7 separate regions of the Homo sapiens genome follow, and regions 1, 3, 4, 5, 6 and 7 are each linked to region 2. Evidence: promoter capture Hi-C in 16 types of primary human blood cells and fetal thymus (Javierre and others, 2016). All regions are on one chromosome and are shown on one strand. The core of a region is centred on a gene start or on the middle of the fragment in contact, and the rest is flanking DNA. Distances in the headings are between cores, read along the strand shown.

What was found. The method cuts DNA at HindIII sites, captures the fragments that hold promoters and counts their contacts. A CHiCAGO score of 5 or more calls a contact.
Region 1: a contact is called between a fragment that was not itself captured here and the fragment with the promoter of C8orf88 in region 2, in 8 of 17 cell types (total B cells, total CD4 T cells, naive CD4 T cells and 5 more). The highest score is 12.6, in total B cells.
Region 3: a contact is called between a fragment that was not itself captured here and the fragment with the promoter of C8orf88 in region 2, in 5 of 17 cell types (naive B cells, total CD8 T cells, naive CD4 T cells and 2 more). The highest score is 8.3, in naive B cells.
Region 4: a contact is called between a fragment that was not itself captured here and the fragment with the promoter of C8orf88 in region 2, in 1 of 17 cell types (total B cells). The highest score is 6.2, in total B cells.
Region 5: a fragment that was not itself captured here is called in contact with the fragment with the promoter of C8orf88 in region 2 in 2 of 17 cell types (fetal thymus and total B cells); the score reaches 6.3 in fetal thymus.
Region 6: a contact is called between a fragment that was not itself captured here and the fragment with the promoter of C8orf88 in region 2, in 1 of 17 cell types (total B cells). The highest score is 6.0, in total B cells.
Region 7: a contact is called between a fragment that was not itself captured here and the fragment with the promoter of C8orf88 in region 2, in 1 of 17 cell types (total B cells). The highest score is 5.6, in total B cells.

The regions. Positions count from the first base shown.
Region 1 is chr8:89,861,880-89,865,090 of GRCh38, reverse strand. No RefSeq gene overlaps it. Among named protein-coding and RNA genes, the nearest start is that of OSGIN2, 39 kb to the left of the region's middle. The HindIII fragment of the contact is 756 bases long and covers 957-1,712 here.
Region 2 is chr8:90,983,286-90,986,790 of GRCh38, reverse strand. C8orf88 (chromosome 8 open reading frame 88) reads left to right here and starts at 1,553. Exons shown (of 6, transcript NM_001190972.2): 1 at 1,553-1,677. RefSeq lists a silencer at 1,370-1,529. The HindIII fragment of the contact is 2,363 bases long and covers 1-2,276 here.
Region 3 is chr8:89,839,748-89,843,393 of GRCh38, reverse strand. No RefSeq gene overlaps it. Among named protein-coding and RNA genes, the nearest start is that of OSGIN2, 61 kb to the left of the region's middle. The HindIII fragment of the contact is 2,424 bases long and covers 40-2,463 here.
Region 4 is chr8:89,821,824-89,825,193 of GRCh38, reverse strand. It overlaps the pseudogene COX6B1P6. Among named protein-coding and RNA genes, the nearest start is that of RIPK2, 66 kb to the right of the region's middle. The HindIII fragment of the contact is 385 bases long and covers 1,776-2,160 here.
Region 5 is chr8:89,763,161-89,766,451 of GRCh38, reverse strand. It overlaps RIPK2 (receptor interacting serine/threonine kinase 2), which reads right to left. Exons shown (of 11, transcript NM_003821.6): 3 at 956-1,111. Among named protein-coding and RNA genes, the nearest start is that of RIPK2, 7.0 kb to the right of the region's middle. The HindIII fragment of the contact is 7,997 bases long and covers 1-3,291 here.
Region 6 is chr8:89,731,905-89,735,397 of GRCh38, reverse strand. The region is part of intron 1 of PARAIL (palmitic acid regulated anti-inflammatory lncRNA); the gene reads left to right. Among named protein-coding and RNA genes, the nearest start is that of PARAIL, 24 kb to the left of the region's middle. The HindIII fragment of the contact is 9,223 bases long and covers 1-3,493 here.
Region 7 is chr8:89,713,735-89,716,904 of GRCh38, reverse strand. No RefSeq gene overlaps it. Among named protein-coding and RNA genes, the nearest start is that of PARAIL, 42 kb to the left of the region's middle. The HindIII fragment of the contact is 6,818 bases long and covers 1-3,170 here.

The DNA of each region.
Region 1 (3,211 bases), core at 85-2,584, 1.1 Mb after region 2:
AGTGGCAATTGTGATGAATTTCCTGGTTTGTAGTCTGAATATCTCTGGTAATGCCATTGGGTGTGCTGATGAACTTTCTAAGTGATCTATATAGCAGCAGGCATGAAAGTTGTTCACACATGATCTCATAGAATGATTTCTCTGAAGTTTATATTAGGTTGTCCAGTTTCAGCTTTCAGGGTCTTAGGAAAAGGGCAATTTTAATTTTTTAGAGATTTCAAGTCAGAAGGATGGGAGAAATTTGGAAATATTAATTTGGAGAGTTGTAGTCAAATATTAGAGGAAACCAGAAGAACTCATGATCTAGTAATATGAGTATTTTGGAAATAGTCATATTAATAACATAACAAATATAGCTCAAAGAAGGGTTAAATATAATCTCTTATTTAACAGTGCATCCCATGTACGTTCAGCATCCCAAATAAGTCTAATTAGTTTAGGATCTCTCTTTTTATAAGGTGAGAGGATAAATGCTTTTCAGACATTTCAGGGTCCCATTTTGAACACTTCTGGCTGGGTGCAGTGGCTCACGCCTGTAATCCCAGCACTTTGGGAGGCTGAGGCAGGTGGATCACTTCAGGTCAGGAGTTCGAGACCACCCTGGCCAACATGGTGAAACCCCGTCTATACTAAAATACAAAAATTAGCTGGGTGTGGTGGTGGACACCTGTAATCTCTGCTACTTGGGAGGCTGAGGCAGGAGAATCCTTAAACCCCGAGGCAGAAGTTGCAGTGAGCTGAGATTGCGCCACTGCACTTCAGCCTGGGCGATAGAGCGAGACTCCTTCTCAAAAGAAAAAAGAAAAGAAAAATTTGATTTCAGAAAGTTGTCAAAAATGTCAAAATGTTTAAACACTTGATAAAAGAGGATCACAATTAACTGTGAAACCATACCAGAGTAACAAAAGATTTTAAAGGCAAATATGGAAACTTAAAAAAGGTTGTAGGGAAAAGCTTAGCTTCTTTAACAGGGCTCAGTTTTTTAAAATTATTGAGACCTGATAAAAGACAACATGAAGCACAAGAAATTATTTTGGTAAAACACAAAATCTTTGTTTTCTAGGCAAATTATTTAAAAGATAAAGTAAAATGGTTTTATAGTTTTCTTATCAACGTCAGACTAATCCCCAAGAAAACTTTGTTCTTTTAATAGAGAAGACCAAATTCTAGTTTTGAGTCAGTTTACTCCTTATATTAAGGCTTATTCTAAAAAATCTTGTAGTAAATTCATTCAATTTACTCAGCTTGATTATATAAGATTTCCTCTTTTGTTCTCTTTTTGACTTTCTGTATCCTTTCAGTTTTTATCCTTCATTCATTGATTCTTTCTGAAACAACCTTTGAAATAGCTCTAAACTAAAACAAAATTACTCTTTCCATAACAAAAATACATCTTTCATATCTTATAACTTTTCTTACCAAAAATGTCTATTTTCCTTGTGTACTTTGTATACAAAGTTGTTTCCCCTATTATTTCTAGTAACTTTGAGTATATACATTAATTAGATTCTTAACTCCTAATGACTTCGGTTTCTGGTGAGAACTCGGAAGCAAGCATTGTCTTTCATAAATCAGTGAATACATTATTTCTTAATTTCTGGAAATATATGCTATCTTATAGCACAATTTGTCAGTGTGGCACAGGACATGTTTATTAATAGACCCAAATATTTTTTGTTCCTCTGTAACAATAAGTCAAACATAAACAAGCTTAAACTTATTTTCAGCAGTTAATGTTTGAGTATTATATTTTACTTGGAAATGATCTAGACATTCCATGAATATCCATCATTTCAGTTAATATAACTTAAGGTTTTAAGTCACCAAAAAGATTCTGGAAACTACGTTTAGATAGACATAGCTTATAAAACGTATCAGTGTTGAAAAGTTTATTTATAAACTGTTATTCTATTTACATTAACATTTATTAATTTACTTTGTTTTAACAATTATACTTGGATTGTTCATGAAAACTTCGTGAGACATTGCATCTCATCATTAACTTATTGTTTTGCTGATCATTTTTATCCTTATCTATATATATTAGGCAAGTATTAAACACTATCGAAATAAAGCACCTACAAAGTTAAACATTCAGCCTTTCCTTTTTCTCTTTTACTGTCATGCTTGACATACATTAGGTAATTTACTTTTATTGTACATTTTATTCTTAGATTGAATTTATAATTTTACAATCTTAAACATATGTAAGATTTTTGATTAGTAAATCCAGGTAGAATAAGTTGTATGCATTATATTTAATGTTGACAATTCTGAAGGTATGCCTGCTTTAATTAAACCACTAACCTTAAACTAGCGTTTTTTTAACCGAAGGATTATCTCAGATCACATGACCTTAAAGAACATTTAAGTTAGTTTTTATTTGTCCTGAGATAATATTTTATTTATGTAAGCACTTATTTTCTTGCTTTAAACCATATCTTCCCATAGGTACCAATAGGACAGTTTTGGTGGTTTTTTGTTTGTTTCTGGAATGAGAGCTATCCATAAAAATACTTTTAGTTAAGAAAAAGCAAATCTACTACATAATCTAATTATACCTACTTTAATTTTGACTAAAAACCAATAAGCTTTTTTTATGGCTTAAAATCAGTAAGTCTTTTCATCCTAGATGCAAGAGCATGTTCCAAAGAGGGTGCAAAAGATGCAGTCCACCTCAAGATCCAAAGTTACTCCCAAAAATAGCCTAAGAAAGCCAAGACCTCCATTGTTAACAAGGCATGGAAGGTAGAGACAGTTAAGACAAATTCCCCTGAGAGATGGCATTGTCAGTCACAGTAAGAGACAGTTTGTGTTTTTGACTCCTAGCCAGCGGGCTAGCTGAGCTGCCTGATGCAAGCCTAACAACTTGCACCCCCAATGGCTGGCAGAGACCAGAGATAATATTTTCACTAGTCACAAAGCTGAGCTCTCAAGACATAAAAGAAAATAAAAGGAGAATCTTACTGTGAATTTTCTCCTTATAACAAATAATACAAAAGAGAAACAAGGAAAACAAGAACCATTCCTGAATGTGTGGATCAGTGACCAAGGAGTAGCCAGATCCAAATTCAAAAGGGTCACAAATCAAAGAACCAATTGTTACATTTTTCTTCTGCCAATCTGAATTTGGAAAGGAAGGAATAAGGAAAAGTTTTTTGTCTTCCTCTCTCAACCAGACACTGTAGACAGAGACCCAGGATAACTGGCT
Region 2 (3,505 bases), core at 304-2,803:
TTCTTAGGTGAACTCTGTGATTTCAGGGCACTTCAAGTTTTCTCAGGCAGTGACTAACCTTTAAGTTGCTAAAAGTCATTAACCTGTTTGTTGTCAAGTTCTTGTTGTAAAGGTATGAATTCTAGATTATCCTTGTAGATGCCAAAATTTTATGTCATTATCAATAAGATTTTGAAAAGTTTCGATATGTTTATATGGTTCATTTTTCTTCCTCAATTATCAAAAAATCAAGGAGTCTGTCTAGTCTAATTTCTCTCTTCCTCTCAATAAATTACTAATACTGATCTGAATTGGAATTCTTCCAATTTACATTTTTGTCACAATAGTTTCTACTGACTTCATACAGTGATATGCACAAAATAATTTTATTGTAAGATGTATATAAAATTATACATGCTTCATTGTTAAGTATATTCCTGAAGAAGAAAACTTCTGTTGTGACTAGATGGATGAGAACCACATCCTGCACTTAAGATTTTCTACATCTGGTGGTTGGAATATATTGATTCCACTGTGCAGACTTCTGGTGCCTCACCCCAAGGGATGCCCTTTTATCATGACCCATCTCTGACCCTGGACCCTAGGTCTCTGATGCCAGGCGAGTTGTCTCAGTGGATAGTAGGAGTGTTTCTGGAAGCCATTTCTAAACGGAGACAGCTCCAATAACTTGACTATACATGGAAGTGCTTGTGAAACTTCATACCTTCCAAAATGGTAAATCCTGATAGTGCCCCACTTAAAACCGTTCAGTGTTTGCCAGTGCATTTTCAACTGTCCTTTTGGTGCTTGGGGACGTGAGGGACTGCCACCTCCACGTCCCTCAGTACAAGCAGACAGTCCCCCTCTGGGGACACTCAAAGATAATGAAAAATTAGCAAAAGGATTGAAGGTGAAGATTAAAAAGAAATGATTCGGATGGAGTTGCCTTAATTCATTTTGTTCCTTTCAGGATGGCAGTCTGTGTGAAACGCTGTATCCCTGGTCTGAGGTAAACCAGGTCTCAAACATCTTCCTCCCTGCCAACCCGAATCCCGACACCCACTAAATGCACCAAGGGGAAAGCAGCGCCTGCCAGCAGCTCTGACGGGGGACAGGAGTAGGGTGGACTCAGTCGTCAGCACGACGGCGGCCTCCCTCACAGAGGCGGCCTCCCTCACAGACGCTGCCTGGAACCCGCCGCCAAGCCCCCAGCAGGCGGCCCGCCTGGCGCCTCCCAGTCTTCGCACAAGCAGGGCCACGGTCTGGGGCCCCCAAGGCCGTTCACGCGGGCGCGCCCCGTCGAGGGCTAGCCTGTCAGCGCCTCACTCGCGGCCTCCTACCCTAGACGACCGGCTCTGGGTGGCGCCGCTCCAACCCCACGCGCCCAGCTCGCCCGGGAAAGCGCGCGCCACCCTTTTAACGGTTCTACCCCGGCAGGGGTGCGGCTGCTCTCGAGGCTCAGCGCCCGAGGCCACGCCCCGCGCCCGCCCTGGGCCCGCCTCGTGCCCCTCGGAGCCGCCTCCCGCCCCGCCCCCCGCCCCTCGCCCCCCGCCCCTCGCCCCCCGCCGCCGCCACCGCGGTCAGCCAGCGGACCAGCGGCAGGAGCCGTTCCCCGACGGGCAGCAGGGCGCTCGGCCTCCGCGTGTGGGCTGAGCGCGGCGACGCTGCTGCCCCGAAATCCCCGTGGATTTTGAGTCGGTAAGTGGCTAGGGAGGATGAGCGACACTGGGGGACGGAAGTCGGGCCCCGTGGTGTGGAGGAGGCGGGTGGGCGCCGTCTCCCAGGCCCGACCCCGGGAAAGTTGAGGCGAGGAAGAGAAGCTCTGAGGTGGGTCGGGAAATCTCTCAGGGCCCCTTCAGTACCCTGTGGACCCTGAATGGGAGTGGGATGGGAGCGAGAGCGTCGGATGAGGGGAAAGAAAGTGTAGGGGGCCAGGGGAGCCCGACGGAGGGGCAAGTGGCCGAGACCAAAGCCATCGCCAAAAAAGGAGCTAAGTACACAGCTCCCCTTGGCTCTGCCCCAGCACCTGGTGCCAGGCGGTGGGAGGCTTTCAAGACGATTTGCCCCCTCCACCCGGTGGCACAAGGTTTTCATTGCTGGTGTTTTAGTCAAAGCTACGGAAAGGACAGTTACATGACTAAAGTAATCACAGACACCTATTACCTGGACAGCTTTAGCCCATCCGAATGTTAAATTGTGTTTTGTTTTGAGAAATCCCTCAAATAGACCAAAAAAAAAATTAAATTAGTTATAAAGAGAAGGCATGAAATGGAAGATATGTTGGAACTCTCCAAGCTTCTAGTTTTTTGATATTTTCGTTTTAATTTTTCCTTAATAGTGCAACCAGATATATGGAACGTGAAATGTCTTTCACCACTTGAGTCATAGGTGGTTTATTTCTTACTCCCCGATGTTTCCTGTATGTTTCTCTTCATCTATCATTTTGTCAGTGTGAGCAGTTTACTTACAAGCAGTATTGGGTTTCAAGGAATCCTAACTTTGTAATGTTTTGAAGTTGGAAATTGAGATGAAATTTTATCTGGTTATCATATGGGAATTATACACAAGGTAAATTCAAATATGGTCTTTTCATTTCATTATTTCACTTTATATGATCTTATTTCTCAACGGCAGCGGTAGCATCAGTACTTTCCAAAGAAGACTAGAATTTATATTGGAGTTTAAGTATAGTACTCAGCTTCTAAAAACAGTGCATAGTATATTTCATATGCTGTGATCTATGGTTAGTATGGCAGTATACCATGTCTGTAGCGTGAGGAAAGCACAGTACTCCCTAATTTATTTAGTATTCTAAGAAAAATGGTAAATTGAAGAAATGGATATTATTAGCATATACCAATTTATTCTGCATGGCCTTATAAATAAATGTTACTTTTCACATTAATTTTTAAATCTATACACGCAGTGTCCACATGTAATAAATGGACAGTCAGATATCTTTCTTTTATGTAACAAATAGGCAAGTTTTGATATAAAGGTGTGAACTTTGTAGTCAAATCCTAATATCTAGCACTTAGTAGCTATGTGGACTTGGGCATGTCTCTTATTTTTCTGAGCCTCAGGTTTCTTATCTGTGAAGTGGGACTAATAATAATTTTCTTCCACCGTTCATATATGGCTCAAAATTAAATGAAATTATATTTAGTATGTAGTAGGACCTTAAAAAGGCATCTTAATTAAAAAATAAGATTAATAAGATTTTGGCCAAAGTGGTCAATGTATCTGCTTATTATCCCATTGTATTTTAGACAATTCTAGGTTTACTGGTAATATCAGGACTGATAAGGCCTGAAGATTCATACTTAGGTAAATTTTTTAAAAAGAAAAGGAACCTAAGATATAGTTAGTATTGCCAGGTGTAGAATAGCAACTGTAAATAACTAACTGATTTACCAATATTCTATTCATACAACTTGGTCTTTAAAGATGATTTGTTAAGTGTGTGTGATCTTGAAAAAAACTATTCAGCAACCATTTCTCAGTATGTATTAATAGAAAGTTTTTT
Region 3 (3,646 bases), core at 2-2,501, 1.1 Mb after region 2:
AAATAAAATAAAGAATTCTTGTTTGCATGGCTAGAAGCTTAAGTTTGGATTAAACCAGCTCTGACTCAAGCAGCTACGTGTGGCAGAGAGAAGGTGGGCTTTTCTTTAAGATGTTAGTATGGTTTGTTTACAGAATATGCAGCTATCATTAGCTGGTGGTGAGGCCCTAACTCTCTGGACTGAGTGTCCATCTTGAGAATCTTTTACACAGAAGCTCTCACTATGTACAGCCTGGAGCACACATCAGCAGCGGACCTTAGGTGGCATGAGGACCAGCTCTGCTTTTACTTTTTGCCTGGCCCCTGCCCAGGGCTTACTTTTTCCATCCAGCCTGTTTATTTTGATTGTGAGACTTTTGCAGAATTCTGCTGGGCAATCTTTTATTTTTAAAGTTCTTGTTCATGGGTCTGGATTCATGGGTTGCTTAGCTCTGTTATATTTCAGCATCAATATATTCCAGAAATTCTTCAATATACTCCAATAACCCCTTCTGAATTTTCTAAAATTTATGGAGATTTATTTTTACTTAATTTTACTCTCCTGACATTTCTATGGGATTTGGGAAGAAAGGTAAATGCATGCATCCAGTCAGCCAGCTGTATCAGGAAGCCACTTACTCCTTTCCATGGTAACCAATTACTAGAAAGCTGCACTGGGAATCACAGCAACCTTGTCCAGTGTGTGCATTTTAGAAGACAGAATTTTTTTTCTGTTCTTACATTAGATCATGCTTAGATCCCTCTCTGAAATTTTTAAAAGATTACTGAGAACAGACGTGTGCTGACATGGACAACTCCTTTTAGTGCTCTGAAAAGTATTTCTCTTGAACAATGAAAATAACTAAATGGAATTAATATTCCTCATCTATCAAATGAACTTTGGGTCTTTCTTAAATGTGCTTGTTTTATCTTTTCCAAGTGCTGAAAGTTTTCATTGAAATTATTTTTCTTGATAGAAAAGAAGAGGATCAGACAGAAGTTGTGTAGTTCCAAGTGTTTATTTTCACCTGTTAAACATTGCGCCACCATCACTAATGATAAGAAATCCTTCTTGTCTTCATTATTTCTCAACATTAATTGCTTTCTCAAGTCTAAACTCATTTATTTATTTATTTTTAGGGATGGGGTCTTGCTGTGTCACTCAGGCTGGAGTGCACTGATGCAGTCATGGCTCACTGCAGTCTCAAACTCCTGGACTCAAGGAATCCTCCTGCCTCAGCCTTCTGAGTAGCTGAGACTTCAGGTGCGCGGCACCATGCCTCACTAATTTTTTTTATTTTTTATTATTTTATAGAAGTGAGGATCTCATTAAGTTTCCCAGGCTTACCTTGAACTCCTGGCTTCATGAACTCATTTAAAGATTTGGCATCCTAGCATTATTCATAGAGGTCCAGACATGACTCTCAATTTGTTTTTTATTTTATATCTCTGCTACAAATTTTTGTACCTGTCCATTTAAAATCTGAGCTTTTGAAAGAACTCTGCACAACATTCACAGCACAAGGGCATTAAGGCAGAAGGGGAAACTAAAGGTCAGAGAATAAGGAGTGAATCATTGGTGATGAAATACAGGCAGTATGAATAGCAAATTATGAAGAATTTGCTGGTGAACTGTTTCACATGTAATAGTTCCTCCTGCTAAGATGGTGGATTCACTGTCACGTCTGACCCATGTTGTTATAACTCTTTTCCACTGAAAGGTACATCTGTGTAATCTAGACCAGCAGACATTTCCTCTGACTTCCATCATGTACACAGTGTCCTATAGATTCCAAAGCTCTTTCAGATATGCTATTACACTTACATTTCCTTCCCATTTTCTTTTTTTTTCCCCCAATAGGAATGGTGTTCTTAGCCTCCCATGTTCATAACAATTTTTTTTTTTTTTTTGAGATGGTGTCTCGCCCTGTTGCCCAGGCTGGAGTGCAGTGACGCAATCGCAGCTCACTGCAACCCCCGCCTCCCAGGTTCAAGCGGTTCTTCTGCCTCAGCCTCCTGAGTAGCCGGGACCACAGGCGCCCACCACCACGCCCAGCTAATTTTTGTAGTTTTTAGTAGAGACGGGGTTTCACCATGTTGACCAGGCTGGTCTTGAACTCCTGACCTCGTGATCCACCCGCCTTGGCCTCCCAAAGCACTGGGATTACAGGCGTGAGCCACCCCGCCCGGCCGTTCTGAACGAAGGAGGTTACTGGTAGCCAGGGGAGAACTGACTGTGCTTTCAGGCATAGAGAAAGGGTTCAGGAGAGGAGGGGAAGTGAAGTCATCAGGTGGGAATGTGTAGCAAGCACCTATCTCCCTGGTTCTTCTATAATCACTCTTTCTCTTCTTTGAAACTCCTTCCTGGCTTCATCCATACTACATGCTCTTGATTTCCCTCTTACATTTCTGGCTCTTCTCAGTCTCCTTTTCTGGCTTCTTTTCATCCATTACAACTTCTAATGTTTTTAAAAAGGCAAAAGCTTGCAGCATCCAAAGTGATATTCTCTATGGAACTTAACATGGGATGTTATTTTTGCCTTGTGAGAAGCACTTTTAGGTTATTCAAAACAAAAGCTGAAACTGGAAAGAAATGTAACCAAATGCTTAGTGTAATAAAAATGTGTTGATGGTCGGGTGTGGTGGCTCATGCCTGTAATCCCAGCACTTTGGGAGGCCGAGGCAGGAGGATCACTCAAAGCCAGGAGTTTGAGACCAGTCTGGACAATACAGCAAGATTCTGTCTCTACAAAAACTAAACTTAAACAAAAAAATTAGCCAGGCATGATGTCACATGCCTGTAATCCCAGCTACTTGGGAAGCTGAGGCAGGAGAATCCCTTGTGCCCAGGAGTTCATGGTTACAGCAAGCTATGATTGTGCAGCCGCACTCCAGCTTGGGTGACACAGCATGACCCTGTCTTTACTCAAAGAGGAAATGTCTATCACAATTCCAAAATAAGCATAGTTTCCTTAAAGAAAATGGCAGAAATACTCCGGTGCTTTCACTAACTCATTTAAAATCTGCTTAAACTTATTTATCATTGTATTTTAAAACATTTTTGTTACATTGTATTAGTGAACACAATTCAAAATAATACCAACCATTTAAAATAAATTTAGGAAGCCTAGTTGGAAATGCTAAGCATCACCTAGATATGTGCAAATACAGATGCTCCTGACTACCAATGGAGTCACATCCTGATAAACCCATCCTGAGTTGAAAATACCATAGCAAGCCCATTTTAAGTTGAGGAATGTACAGAAAGTGAACCACTTTTGAGCTATTGTGAAGTGAAAAAATGCAAGTTGAACCATCTTAAGTAGGGGACTGTCTGTAGCAAACAATTATATCCTCACCAAGTCTTGTATGTGCATCTTACTATTGACATAAAGGTGTTGGATCTAGCGGGCCTAATACCTGTGTATATTTTAAACATTTTGAAAATTTTACTTAAAATGAATTTTATTTTTTACCTTCCATGGGCAGCTTAGCTAGTATGATTAAGGGAGACAGAGTCTCACTCTGTTGCCCAGGCTGGAGTGCAGTGGCGCAATCTCAGCTCACTGCAATCTCGGCCTCCCACGTTCAAGTGATTCTCCTGCCTCAGCCTCCTGAGTAGCTGGGACTACAGGTGCCTGCCATCATGCCTGGCTAATTTTTATATT
Region 4 (3,370 bases), core at 719-3,218, 1.2 Mb after region 2:
CTGAATATAACATTCTATTATTGACTATAGTCCTCACATTGTATATTAGATCTTTCCATTTGTTCATCGTATATATTTGCTAATTTGTATCCTTTGGCCTAATATCTTCCCAATTCCTATCCCACACTCCAACCCTGGTAATCACTGTTTTATTCTCTCTATGTCTGACTGCTTTAAAAAAATTCACAGAAAGCATTTGTGGAGGCTGAGCAAGATGGCTGAATAGAAGCCTCCACCAATAGTCTTCCCTGCAGGAACACCAACTTTAACAACTATCTACACAAAAAGCACCTTCATGACAAACAAGCAGGTGCATGATCATAGTACCTGGTTTTAACCTCACATTACCCAAAGAGGCACTGAATAGGATAAGAAAGACAGCCTTAAATTGCTGACAATGCTCTTCCAGCATTCCTCAGCAGCGGCCACATGGTACAAAGACAGCCTGTGCCCTTGGGGGTGGGAGAATGCAGCATCTGTGGACTTTGCATTGGAACTCGGTGCTACCTTGTCACAGTGAAAAGCAACACGGGACAGAACTCAGCCACCACCCATGGAGGGAGCATTTAGACCAGCCCTATCCAGAGCGGGTAGCCTATCCCAGTAGTCAGAACCTGTGTTCTGGCAAGCCTCGGCACTGTGGACTAAAGCGCTCTGGGTCCTAAATAAAGTTGAAAGGTAGTCTAAGCCGCAAGAACTGTGATTCCTGGGCAAGTCCTGGTGCTGTGCTGGGCGCAGAGTCAGTAGATTTGGCAGGCATATGACCTAGTGAGACACCAGCCCAGGTGGCCAAGGGAGTGTGTGTGTCACCCCTCCCCGCATACCAAGGCAGCACAGCTCACAGCCCCAGAAGAGAGTTCTTTCTTTTGCTTGGGGAGAGGAGAGGGAAGAGTAAAGAGGAGTTTGTCTTACAACTTGGATATCATAGGGGTAGTTTGCAAATATTTTCTCCTATTCTGTGGGTTGTCTCTTCACTTTGTTGACTGTATCCTTTGCTCAGCAAAAGCTTTTTAACTTTATATCACGTTAGTTCATTTTCTAACTCTTTGCCTTTCAAAAATTTCTCCAGGTATTTTCAATGAGCTTTTTCAAACACAACAACATTCTAAAAATGTTTCACACATCAGTAGTTTGAAGAAAATTTTCCCAAGACATGTAGGGCCATCTTTTCAATTTTAATCTTTTCCTGGCTATTAATGTACACAACTCATTTTCCCTGACCTTTTGCAAGTGTTACTTGTGTGAATAGTACCATTGACAAAAATGCTATTTCTTTCAAGAGTTTGATAATAAGATTTCTCTCTGCCCAGTAAATTAAAAAATCATGATAGTCTTTGCTGAGGGTCACACTGAGCTGAGAGGTATCTCAGGGGCATCTTTAGGAGTTAGCAACATAGCAGAATATATCGAGACCCATGTCAAGAACTACAGAACTGCCGCTTTTGACAGCTGCTTCCCCAACCAGAGCCAGTTCAGGAACTGCTGGCAGAACTACCCAGATTTCTACCACTGTGGAAAGGTAATGATGTCTGAAGAGAGTGATGTCTCTGGGTGCAAATGGTAGTGGGAATGTGTACAAATCCCCCAGCATCATATTCTGGGTCTTAACCTGGGGTGACCACGGGGCAGAAGCCACAATTCCTGGAAAGATGAGAATGAGTTCTGCCCCACTTTTCCTCGGTCCTAAGTCCTTCTCCCAGGGTGATAAAGGGGGACTTGGGTACATGGAGCTCATCGTGGGACCCTGAATCATGACTTAAGTGATAATAAAAGCTTACTGGAAGAGTGGGGAAAAAGTCATGACATGAAGGATTAGAGGAGAGATTTGCAGTTGTCTTAAAGAAATAGTCTACTCCCCTCCTGAGGTAGAGTTCAGCTTCGTCCACTTTTCTGCTGTGTGCACTATGGCAAATGCAGCAAGACATAGAGATATGGATGTGCCTCAACGCATCCAGTAAGTTGAGAGAAAACCTCAAGTTGCAAATGGATATGAACAGTGTAGTACCATTTATGAAATGACATAATTATGTATGGATATATTCATATGTAGTCAGATTTGTAAAAAGTACTTGGAAATGATTCATATTTACCTTAGGATAGTTGTTTAAACTGAGGAGAAAAAAGGTGGTGATGATGAGAGAAAGATAAGGAGATGAAGCTTTCCTTCTATTTATAGTGTTTTATTTCTTAAAATCTGAAAGAGGCTGGCATAGTGGTGCACATCTGTAATCCCAGCACTTAGGGAGGCTGAGGCAGGGGGATTGCTTGAGGCCAGAAGTTCAAGGCTGCAGTGTGCTATGATCATGCCATGGCACTCCAGCCTTGGTGCCAAAGCGAGACCCTGTCTCAAAAAAAAAAAAAAAAACTCTGGAAACAAATATGGTAAAATATTAACACCTTATGTGTGTGGTACATGAAATCCTTGTTATATTCTGTACATATGAAATAGTTTATAATTTGAAAAACAGCTAGTTTTCTAGGAAGTATTAACATACCTAAAGAATGAGCTAATTAAAATTGGTGGCAGAAGGTCAGAGAAGTTATCCTTGTAGTATCCATTCATGCATTTCTTGGGCAAATACTCAAGTCTAAAGCCCCATTTACAGTATTTCTGTTGGGAAGATGACTAGACGCCCCCTATCTATGTTCCTTTATTTACAATTTAGGCTTGAGCACAAATCTGACTACTAGAAGAGAAGGTATTCCCCAAGAAATTATGGAGGCCCAGCAGCAGTTCTATTACTTGCCCTTAAAAATGGCATTGCATTCTGATTTTATTAAAAAAGTTTATTATCAGCCTAGTGCCAAAATCTGTGTTTGAGTTTACAGAACTGAGGGTCAGAATGCCACTTTCTTTCTAATTTCCATATTGGATTTGGTGAAGATTTTCCAGCTCCTAAGGCCTGATTGTTCCTAGTAGACAGGTACATTATATTTGGTTGTTTTTGTTTTTGTTTTCTTCTTTTATCCCTAATCTGATCTCCTTGAGGGCAAGAATACTTCTTCTCTATTTTTTTCTCCTCCAAGAGTTCAATACACGTTTGGTGAAAAAATAGTGTTTCAATCTAGAAGAAATGGATAAGTTCCTGGACACATACCCCCTTCCCAAGACTAAACCAGGAAGAAGTTGAATCCCTGAATAGACCAATAACAGGCTCCGAAATTGAGGCAATCATTAATAGACTACCAACCAAAAAAAGTCCAGGACCAGACAGATTCACAGTCGAATTCTACCAGAGGTACAAGGAGGAGCTGGTACCATTCCTTCTGAAACGATTCCAATCAATAGAAAAAGAGGGAATCCTCCCTAACTCATTTTATGAGGCCAACATCATCCTGATACCAAAGCCTGACAGAGACACAACAAAAA
Region 5 (3,291 bases), core at 152-2,651, 1.2 Mb after region 2:
TTGCTGGTGGAATGTAAAATGGTACAGCCACTCTGGAAAATAGTTGGATACTTTCTTTAAAAACTAAACACACCCTTACCATATGACCCAGCATTTGCATTCTTGGGCATTTATCACAGAGTAATGAAGACTTATGTTCACTCATAAACCTGTACAGCTTTGTTCACAGCAGCTTTGTAAATAATTACCCCAAAATGGAAAGAACCAAAATGTTCCTGAATGGTTAACTTTGGTACATTTATACTGTGGAATACTACTTATCAATAAAAAACAACTATTGTTACAAGCACAACTTAGACGGATCACAAGAGCATTATGTGACGTGAACAAAGCCAATCTCAAAATATCACATACTATATGATTCCACTTATATAGCATTTTCAAAATGACAAAATTAAAGAGATGGAAAGCAGATTAGTGGTTGTTAGGGGTACAGATTGTGGTAGGGAGGAAGTGGGTGAGGTAGGATGAGTGTTATCTTTGTGGTGATGTTATGAGTAGTGCTGTACCTTGATTGTTGCGGTTACTATGAACACACATTGTACTAATGTCAAATTCCTGGTCTTGAAATTATACTATAATTATGTGTGATATAACAATGTGGGAAACCAGGTGAAGGATACATGAAACCTCTTTATTACCTTTGCAACTTCCTATAAATATATAATAATTTTAAAATAAAAAGTAAAAAAAAAAGGTGATCTTGACAATTCAATTAAGAAACATAATGGCTTTGTATTTTGTACCATAATTCTATCTCTGTCTAGGAATAACTTCCTAACTGCAGTAGGAAGAAGGAGAATAGAAGATAGAAATTAGGGGCTATGGAAATTACTATTCATTAGTCTCTATCTCTAAGGAGAGACATGAAATTGGCTAGGTCGAAGAAATAACTAAAAAGTATTTTTAAAACTATAAGGACAAGGAAACATAAACTTTTTAAAAAAGTAATTACCTTAACATGAAATTCATTGTCCAATAAGATATTCTGAGTCTTCAAGTCATGATGAAGTAAAGGAGGAGTCATATTGTGCAGGTAATTTACACCAAGGGCAATTTCATGCAGGATGCGAAATCTCAATGGCCAAGCAACATCAGGATATTCAGTTTTCTTCATATATATGTGAAAAGAAAGAAAATGAAATTAGTCCAAATTTCACTATGTTTCACACTTAGAAAGTTAAATATTCCATGAGGAAATACAGTATAAACTAAGGTTAAAACATATGCTCATTTTTATAAAATAGCACCAATTTGATAGGGTTTAACATTTTTGTGTCTTACTTTCCTCACTTTATAGAGAAAATTATGATAACTTTATGGCACCAATACTTCCTTTTAGTTTATATTGGTCATGCAACTACATGGTTTTGGGTCTTTCTTCAGCTGACACAAATCTCAATTACTTTGTATCTGTATATAGCCAGAGTCATATACTTACACCCACATCCACCTCCTCATTCTATGTCTTAATCAGGTAATTTGAGTACACACAAATACACACAAAATTACAGACAGTTTTTTTCTAGTAAATACCAAGGCATTCATTCAAAATTTGTATTTTAATTTTTCTATTACTATAAAATCATACATTATAATCACTGCATCAGTTACAAATTATGATCATATTGTATTTATTGACTAAGCATTAATTTATCATACATTTAATCATATAATTAATTTATCTGCATTCCAGCTTATAAAATTAGCCTTTTGTTTTGTTTTTGTGGAAGGGACACTCATTTTTGTTTCTAAAACTGTATAGAACAGACACATTTAAAACATAACATTTTATTTTTCATAGTACTCAAATAATATCCATCTGAGTTTTCTTAAAATAAATGTTTTCTGAACATAAAAGTTAATGTGGCTTCCCAGGAGAATGAACATACTTTGGAAGATCAGGCAATTTGGGAAGATCCACGATGAATCACCAGGCACCATACCACATTTTTCTAAATGCTATGAAAAAGACTGCTTCTACTGAAAGTACAAAACTGTTCTTGAGAAGTTTTTCTGCAAATGCGTCAGCTTATAGTTCAGTGATCAATCTGGCAGGGGGAGTGGTTCAAAATATTTTAGACTGTTTATGATACATCTTGAGTTTTCTCAATGAATTTTGTGAGGTTGGGGGAGGGCACTTCAAGATAAATCCCACCCTAAATAATGCAATACAGGAAACCAAAAGAAACACAAAAAGCTGACGTGGAACATTACTTTCTCTGGCATACACAGAGGCCTGTCCCCTAGAGAAACTTAATCTTTTAATCTGTAAAAAAGGTAACTTTTTCTGAAAATTATGCAGTTTAAAGCAGTTACCAGGCCTCTCTGCAGCATAATATAATATGGGGGCTTGTGATCATGGAGACAAGGGAGAGAAGTGCTCACTGTATATTTTATGATTTTTTTTCCAGGAGTTAGCAATCCCCCTTGAGGAGGCTGTAGAATTTCCAGCGAGCTGCAAATTTGGGTGCCAGAGTATCTGCTGGGGTGTGGGAAGAAAATGTTAGATTTCTACTTATACTCATTTCTCAACAAAAATAAAAGAGAAATTGTGATTTATTAATATTTGTATCTTGGCTCTGTGGTAGTTATACAAATCTTACAGACTGACACCAGTTACTTATTCCATCCTTGTTTCAAATGGTCACAAGTCATGAATAGAATGTGATGTATTCTGAAACTGAGAGGAAGTTACTCTATGACTGACTGACAGTGGCACCCACTTTCCCTTGGCCACTTACAGGGCATTGTGTTACACTATCATTTATGAGTATCTATTGATTGGATTTTGTAGATTAATACAGTTTTAATTAAGCCAACCCTCAAAAAATGGACCAAGTAGTTTAAAAAGATCTACTGAAACTACAGACTCATGATAATATTAATAATGAATACATGTATTTTGAGAATGAGGACCCCTGAATTTGTTTACTCAAGGGATTCATAATCAAAGAGAGAGTGACTGGTACCTTGGGAAAAAGGGTAAATGGCTGATACCACTGTCTATTATTAGAAAAGCTAATGTATCTGGTATTCAGAGATAATTTATTAATATTTGGCCTGCTAATTCAGAACTTTATGAACTGGTATTAATAACATTAAATTTGAATTTGAAATTGCTATTAATATAAAATAAAATATCACTTAACAGTGGATTTTACAGTATGCAGAGTTTATCTCTTCCATTTCTACCCATGTAATATGCATGTAAATACTATAATTTGGTATAAATGTTAGGAATGGTAACCCAGGCAAAATAATCTAGAGTACAGGGCCTGAATCCACAGT
Region 6 (3,493 bases), core at 690-3,189, 1.3 Mb after region 2:
AGAGACAGTTTCACTTTTTCCTTTCCTAATTGAATGCCTTTTATTTATTTTTCTTGCCTAATTGCTCTGGTAGGACTTCCAATATTATGTTGCACAGAGGTGGTAAGAGTGTGCATCCTTGTATTATTCCTTATCCTAGAGGAAAAGTCATCATGTTTTCACCATTGAATATGTTGAAGTCATCATGTTTTCACCGTTGAATATGTTAGGTGTGTGCTTCTCATATATGGACTTTGTTGTGTTGAGGAACATTCCTTCTATACCTAATTTGTTGAGAGTTTTTGTTGTGAGAGGAGGTTTAATTTTGTCAAATGCTTTTGTGCACCTATTGAGATGATCATATGTTTTTTGTCCTTCATTCTGCCAATATAGTGAATCACATTTATTGATTTGTGAATGTTGATCATCTTCACATCCCAGAGATAAGTCCCATTTGATCATGGTGAATGATCCTTTAATGTACAGTTGAATAGAGTTTGATAGTATTTTGGTGATAATTTTTGCATCTATGTTCATCAGTGATGTTGGCCTGTACTTTTCTGATAGTGACTTTGGCTTTGGTATCAGGGTAATGCTGGCCTTGTAAAATGAGTTTGGAAGTATTCTCTTTTCTTCAATTTTTTGTTAGAGTTTGAGAAGGATTGATATTAGTTCTTTAAATGTTTGGTAGCATTCAACCATGAAGCCATTTGGGTCTGGGCTTTTCCTTGATGGGACATTTTTGACTACTAATTCAATCTCTTTGCTCATTATTGGTCTGTTCAGATTTCTGATTTCTTTATGATTCTGTCTTGCTAGGTGATATGGTTTGGTTGTGTCCCCACCCAAATCTCATCTTGAATTGTAACTCCCACAATTCGCATATGTTGTGGGAGGAACCTGGTGGGAGGAGATTGAATTATGGGGGCAGGTCTTTTCTGCACTGTTCTCATGATAGTGAATAAGTCTCATGAGATCTAATGGTTTTTAAAAGGGGAGTTCCCCTGCACAAGCTCTCTCTCTCTTTGCCTGCTGCCATCCATGTAAGACGGGACTTGCTCCTTGCCTTCTGCCATGATTGTGAGGCCTCCTCAGCCACGTGGAACTGTAAGTCCATTAAACTTCTCTTTCTTTTGTAAATTGCCCAGTCTCGGGTATGTCTTTTATCAGCAGCGTGAAAACGGACTAATACAGTAGGCTATTTGTTTCAAGGAATTTATTAATTTTTTGTATGTTGTCGAATTTGTTTGTATATGATTGTTTATATTAGTCTCTTATGATGCTTTCTGTTTTTGTGTAATAAGTTGCAATGTCTCCTCTTTCATTTTTGAAATGAGTTTTGGTTGAGTCTTCTCCCTTTTTTTCTTAGTCTAGCTAATGGTTTGTCAATTTTGTTTACCTTTTCAGAAAAAAACCTCTTAGTTTCATTCATCTTTTGTATAACTTTTCTAGTCTCGATTTTATTTACTTTTGCCCTGATCTTTCTTATTTTTTTCTTCTTCTAACTTTGGGCTTAGTTTGTTATTCTTTTACTAGTTCTTGGGGTGGAATATTAGTTTGTTTATTTGCAGTTTTCCATTTTTTTGAGGTAGGGATTTACTGCTATGAAATTCGCTCTTAGAACTGCTTTTGCTACCACCATAAATTTTGGCATGTTGTGTTTCCATTTTTGACTTAGTGTTTCCATTTTAAAATTTCCCTTTTAATTTCTTTGACCAAATAGTTGTTCAGGAGCATATTGTTTACTTTCCATACAGCTGGCAATTTTCCTGATTTCTCCTGTTATTTACTTCTAGTTTTATGCCATTTTGGTTGGAAAAAATACTTGATATGATTTTGATACTTTTAAATTTGTTAAGTTTTCTTTGTGGCTTAACACATGATATATCTGGGAGAATATTCTGCATCCACTTGAGAAGAATGTGTATTCCATTGCTGTTGGGTGGCATGTCAAGTACATGTCTATTATGCCCATTTGGTCTAAAGTATAGTTCAAATCCAGTGTTTCCTTATTGATTTTATTTCTGGGTGATCTGTCTTTTGTTGTAAGTGGGGTATTGAAATATCCTATTATTGTGTTGCAGTGTGTTTCCTTTCAGATCTCTTAATGTTTGCTTTATTTCTCCATCTTTTTTTATTTTTTGGCAGGATTTTGCCCTGTTGCCCAGACTGGAATGCAGTGGCACAATCACAGCTCACTGCAGCCCTGACCTCCCAGGCCCAAGCAAACAGCTGGGACCACAGGTGTACACTACCATACCTGGCTAATTTTTAAATTTTTTGTAGAGTTGGGCTCTCCCTATGTTGCCCATCCTGGTCTTGAACTCCTGGGCTCAAGTAATCCTCCTGCCTTGGCCTCCAAAAGTGCTGGGATTATAGTCATGAGCCACCATGCCCGGCCTGCCTTATATATTTAGATGCTCTGCTATTGGGTGCACACACACACACACATTTATGTATATATTTACATATATATATTTACAATTGTTTGCTCCTTTTAATGAATTAAACCCTTTACCACAGTATAATGACCTTGTCTCTTTTTACAGTTTTGACTTAAAGTCTATTTTTTTCTGAAATAAGTATACCTACCCCTGCTGTCTTTTGTTTTCTATTTGAATGAAATATATTTTTCCCTCTCTTCATTTTCATTCTATGAGTATCCTTTAAGATGATGTGAATTGTAGACGGCATACAGTTGGGTCTTATTTTTTTAGTGCAGACATTTGCTCTGTGCATTTTGATTGAAAAATTTAGTCCATTTACATTCAAAGTAATTATCGGTAGGTGAAGACTTACTAGTGCCATTTTGTTAATCATTTTCTGGTTGTTTTGTAAATCCTTTGTTTCTGCTTTTCTCTGTTGCTTTCTTCCTTTGTGGCCTGATGGCTTTCTGCTGTAGTATGCTTTGGATCTTTTCTTTTTATCTTTTGTATATCAAATATAGGCTTTTGCTTTGTGATTATCCTGAGGCTTACATAAATCATCTTATAATGTGGTATTTATCTTGGAAACAACTAAATTTTGATCACATATAAAACTTTAAACTTTTACTCCCCTTCCTCTCACATTTTATGTTTTTGATGTCTCACTTTCATCTTTTTATAATTTGTATTCCTCAACAAATTACTGCAGCTTTAGTTGTTTTTAATAGCTTTGTCTTTTAACCTTTATACTAGAGATATAATGGATTTACCCACTGCCATAACAGTGGCAGTGTTTTGGTTTTGACAGTGTAGTTGTTTTTATTACCGGGTTTTATACTTTCATATGTTTTCGTATTACTAACTAGTGTCCTCTTCAGCTTGAAGAACTCCCTTGACATTTTAACACAAGTCTAGTGGTGATAAACTCTCTCATCTTTTTTTGTCTGAGAAAGTATTTATCACCTCTTCATTTTGAAAAATAGGATTGCTTGGTATAATATACTTGACTGGCAGTGTTTTTTCTTTCTGGATTTTGCATCTATCATTCTATACTCTTCTGGCCTGCAAGGTTTCTGCTGAGAAATCCA
Region 7 (3,170 bases), core at 279-2,778, 1.3 Mb after region 2:
AAACAAATAGAAAATTGGACAAAACAATGTTTTCAGGCATAATAAACAAATTGAACCTTATTATTACCTCAGCTTGGCTTGCCACCTAGAGGCAGTTTTCGAGCTTTAATAGATGGAGGGTTTATTAGTCTGTTTTCACGCTGCTATAAAGAATGACCTGAAACTGGGTAATTTAAAAAGGAAAGAGGTTTAATTGACTCACAGTTCCTCATGGCTGGGGAGGCCTCAGGAAACTTACAATCATGGTGGAAGGTGAAGGGGAAGCAAGGCATGTCTTTAAGAGGTGGCAGGAGAGAGAGAGAGACAGAGAGAGAGAGAGAGAGACAGAGAGAGCAAAAGTGCAGGGGAAACTGCCGCTTTTAAACCGTCAGATCTCATGAGAACTCCCTCACTATCACAAGAACAGCATAGGGAAAACTGCCCACATGATCCAGTCACCTCCCACCAAGTCCCTTTCTTGACACATGGGGGATTACAATTTGAGATAAGATTTAGGTGGGGACACAGAGCCAAACCATATCAGAGGGAAACCTCGAACAGATCCTGGCAGTCTACCTTAGTGGAGGGATTAGAAATTAGAGTTCATGGAGACTAAAGTGGATAGAGATTTTGGGTGGGGGGGGGGGGTTGGTGAAGAGAGAGAGAGAGAGATAAGAGAGAATATACCCAGAGATCACAAAGGGGTCCCTTGAGCCTTGGTATGTGCATGTGAGAGAGAAAGATACCCCTGGCAGGGGTAAGAACTGCTGGGAGGCAATAAGCCAAATAATTCCTGAAGCTCACTTAAGGCTGGGAAGAGTTTGTGTTCCCATCAGTTAGAGTGGAAAGACCTTATTACACTGTATTATATAGGGGCATTGAATAGAATCCTCAGAAGAATACCTCAGTAGTGAAGTTAGTAGTGAGGCTAAATTAGCCCTGGACTAAAATATACTCTGGATTTCCCTAACAAGCCTCAAAAGAGGTAGACTGCTACTAAGTAACATAACTGCGTGCTAGAACAAAGCCTAAGACTACTAGAAGGGTTACAACAAAATCTACCACCCTATTAAGTGAGGTTTCAATGTCGCAAAGCAATAAAACATTTACCAGACAGTAGAAAGAATAAGAAACCTAACCCATAATCAGAAGAAAAATGTCAATAAATAGAAACAGCACCAGAAATGACAGAGGTGATGTAATGACTAAAATTGTCTATTGTAAATATGCTTCACATCATGAGTAAGGTATAGGGAAGCATGAGCATGATGAAGAGAGATATAGATAATAGAAGAAGACAAATCAAAGTTATAGAGATGAAAAATACAATAGATTCTTCATTTCATCTCTGAAATGAATAGATTGAACGGGATCAACAGCTGATTAGATACTGCAGAAGAAAAGATGAGTGAAATTGAAGGAGCAATAGAATCTATCAAAAATGAAGCTCAGGGAGAAAAATGACTAATAGAAAAATGAACAGAGCATCAGTGACCTCAGGAACAAAGTCAGGAGATCTAATATAATTGGAACCACTGAAGCAAGGTGGAGGAGTGTAAAAAGAGAAGACATAATGGCCAAATGTTTGTCCAACTGTCATGAAAAGTATAAACTCATAGATCCTAGAAACTCAAAGAATCCTAAGACGGAAAAGCATCCTAAGAAAATCACACCAATACACATTGTAATTGAATTTTAGAAAACCAGTTTTGATAAAGAGAAAAATCATAATAGCAGCCAGAGGAAAAAAAAAAGGCACTGTCTCAACAGAAACTTCTCATCAGAAACTACACAAACTGGATGACAGTCCTCCAAGTGTTGAAAGAAAAAAAACCTGTCAATCTAGAATTCTATGTCCAGGTTTTTGATTTTTTAAAAATAAAGGTGAATAAACAATTCTCCAGACAAACAAAAGAGGTAAAATTCATTGTCAGCAAACTAAATATAAGAAATATTAAGGGAAGTTATTCAGGCAGAAGGAAAATGATGCCAGATGGAAACTTGTGTATTCACATAGGAATAAAAAATGCCAGAAATCATAAATATATGGATACATGAAAAATACTTAATTTTCTTAGTTTTTAAGTCTCTTTAACAGATAATTGACTGCTTAAAGCAAAATAGAAATAATGTACTGTTGGCTTTATAACATATATAGAAGTAAGGTATATGATAAGGACACTGTAACTTACCATAGTTGTGTTAAGCAGCTTCTAAGATGCTCCCCAACAGTCTCTGCATTCTACTGTTCAACTCTAATATAGTCTCATCCTGCATGGCATAGGGCCAAACTCTGTAAAGAATAGAATATGGAGAACTGACAATGTATGGATTTTAAGCCTAGGTCAAAAAGATATTGGAGCTTCCAACTTGCTCCTTTTTGCATTGCTCCTCTGAGGAAAACCCAACTGCCATGTCCTGAGGATGCTCACATCTACAGAGAGTTTACATGGAGAGAAACTGAAGTCTCCAGCCAAGACCCAGCATCAACTTCCCAGTTACGTGAGTGAGCCATCTTGGAAGCAAATTTTGCAGCACCAGTAAAGTGTTTAGATAACTGCAACCCCTTTCGACATCTTTTATTTATTTATTATTATTATACTTTCAGTTTTAGGGTACTTGCGCACAATGTGCAGGTTAGTTACATATGTATAGATGTGCCATGTTGTTGTGCTGCACCCAGTAACTCGTCATTTAACATTAGGTATATCTCCTCATGCTATCCTTCCTCCCCACCCCACCCCACAACAGGCTCTGGTGTGTGATGTTCCCCTTCCTGTGTCCATGTGTTCTCATTGTTCAATTCCCACCTGTGAGTGAGAACATGCAGTGTTTGGTTTTTTTGTGCTTGTGATAGTTTGCTGAGAATGATGGTTTCCAGCTTCATCCATGTCCCTACAAAGGATATGAACTCATCATTTTTTATGGCTGCATAGTATTCCATGGTGTATATGTGCCACATTTTCTTAATCCAGTCTATCATCGATGGACATTTGGGTTGGTTCCAAGTCTTTGCTATTGTGAATAGTGCCGCAATAAACTTACCTGTGCCTGTGTCTTTATAGCAGCATGATTTATAATCCTTTGGGTATATACCCAGTAATGGGATGGCTGGGTCAAATGGTATTTCTAGTTCTAGATCCCTGAGGAATTGCCACACTGACTTCCACAATGGTTGAACTAGCTTACAG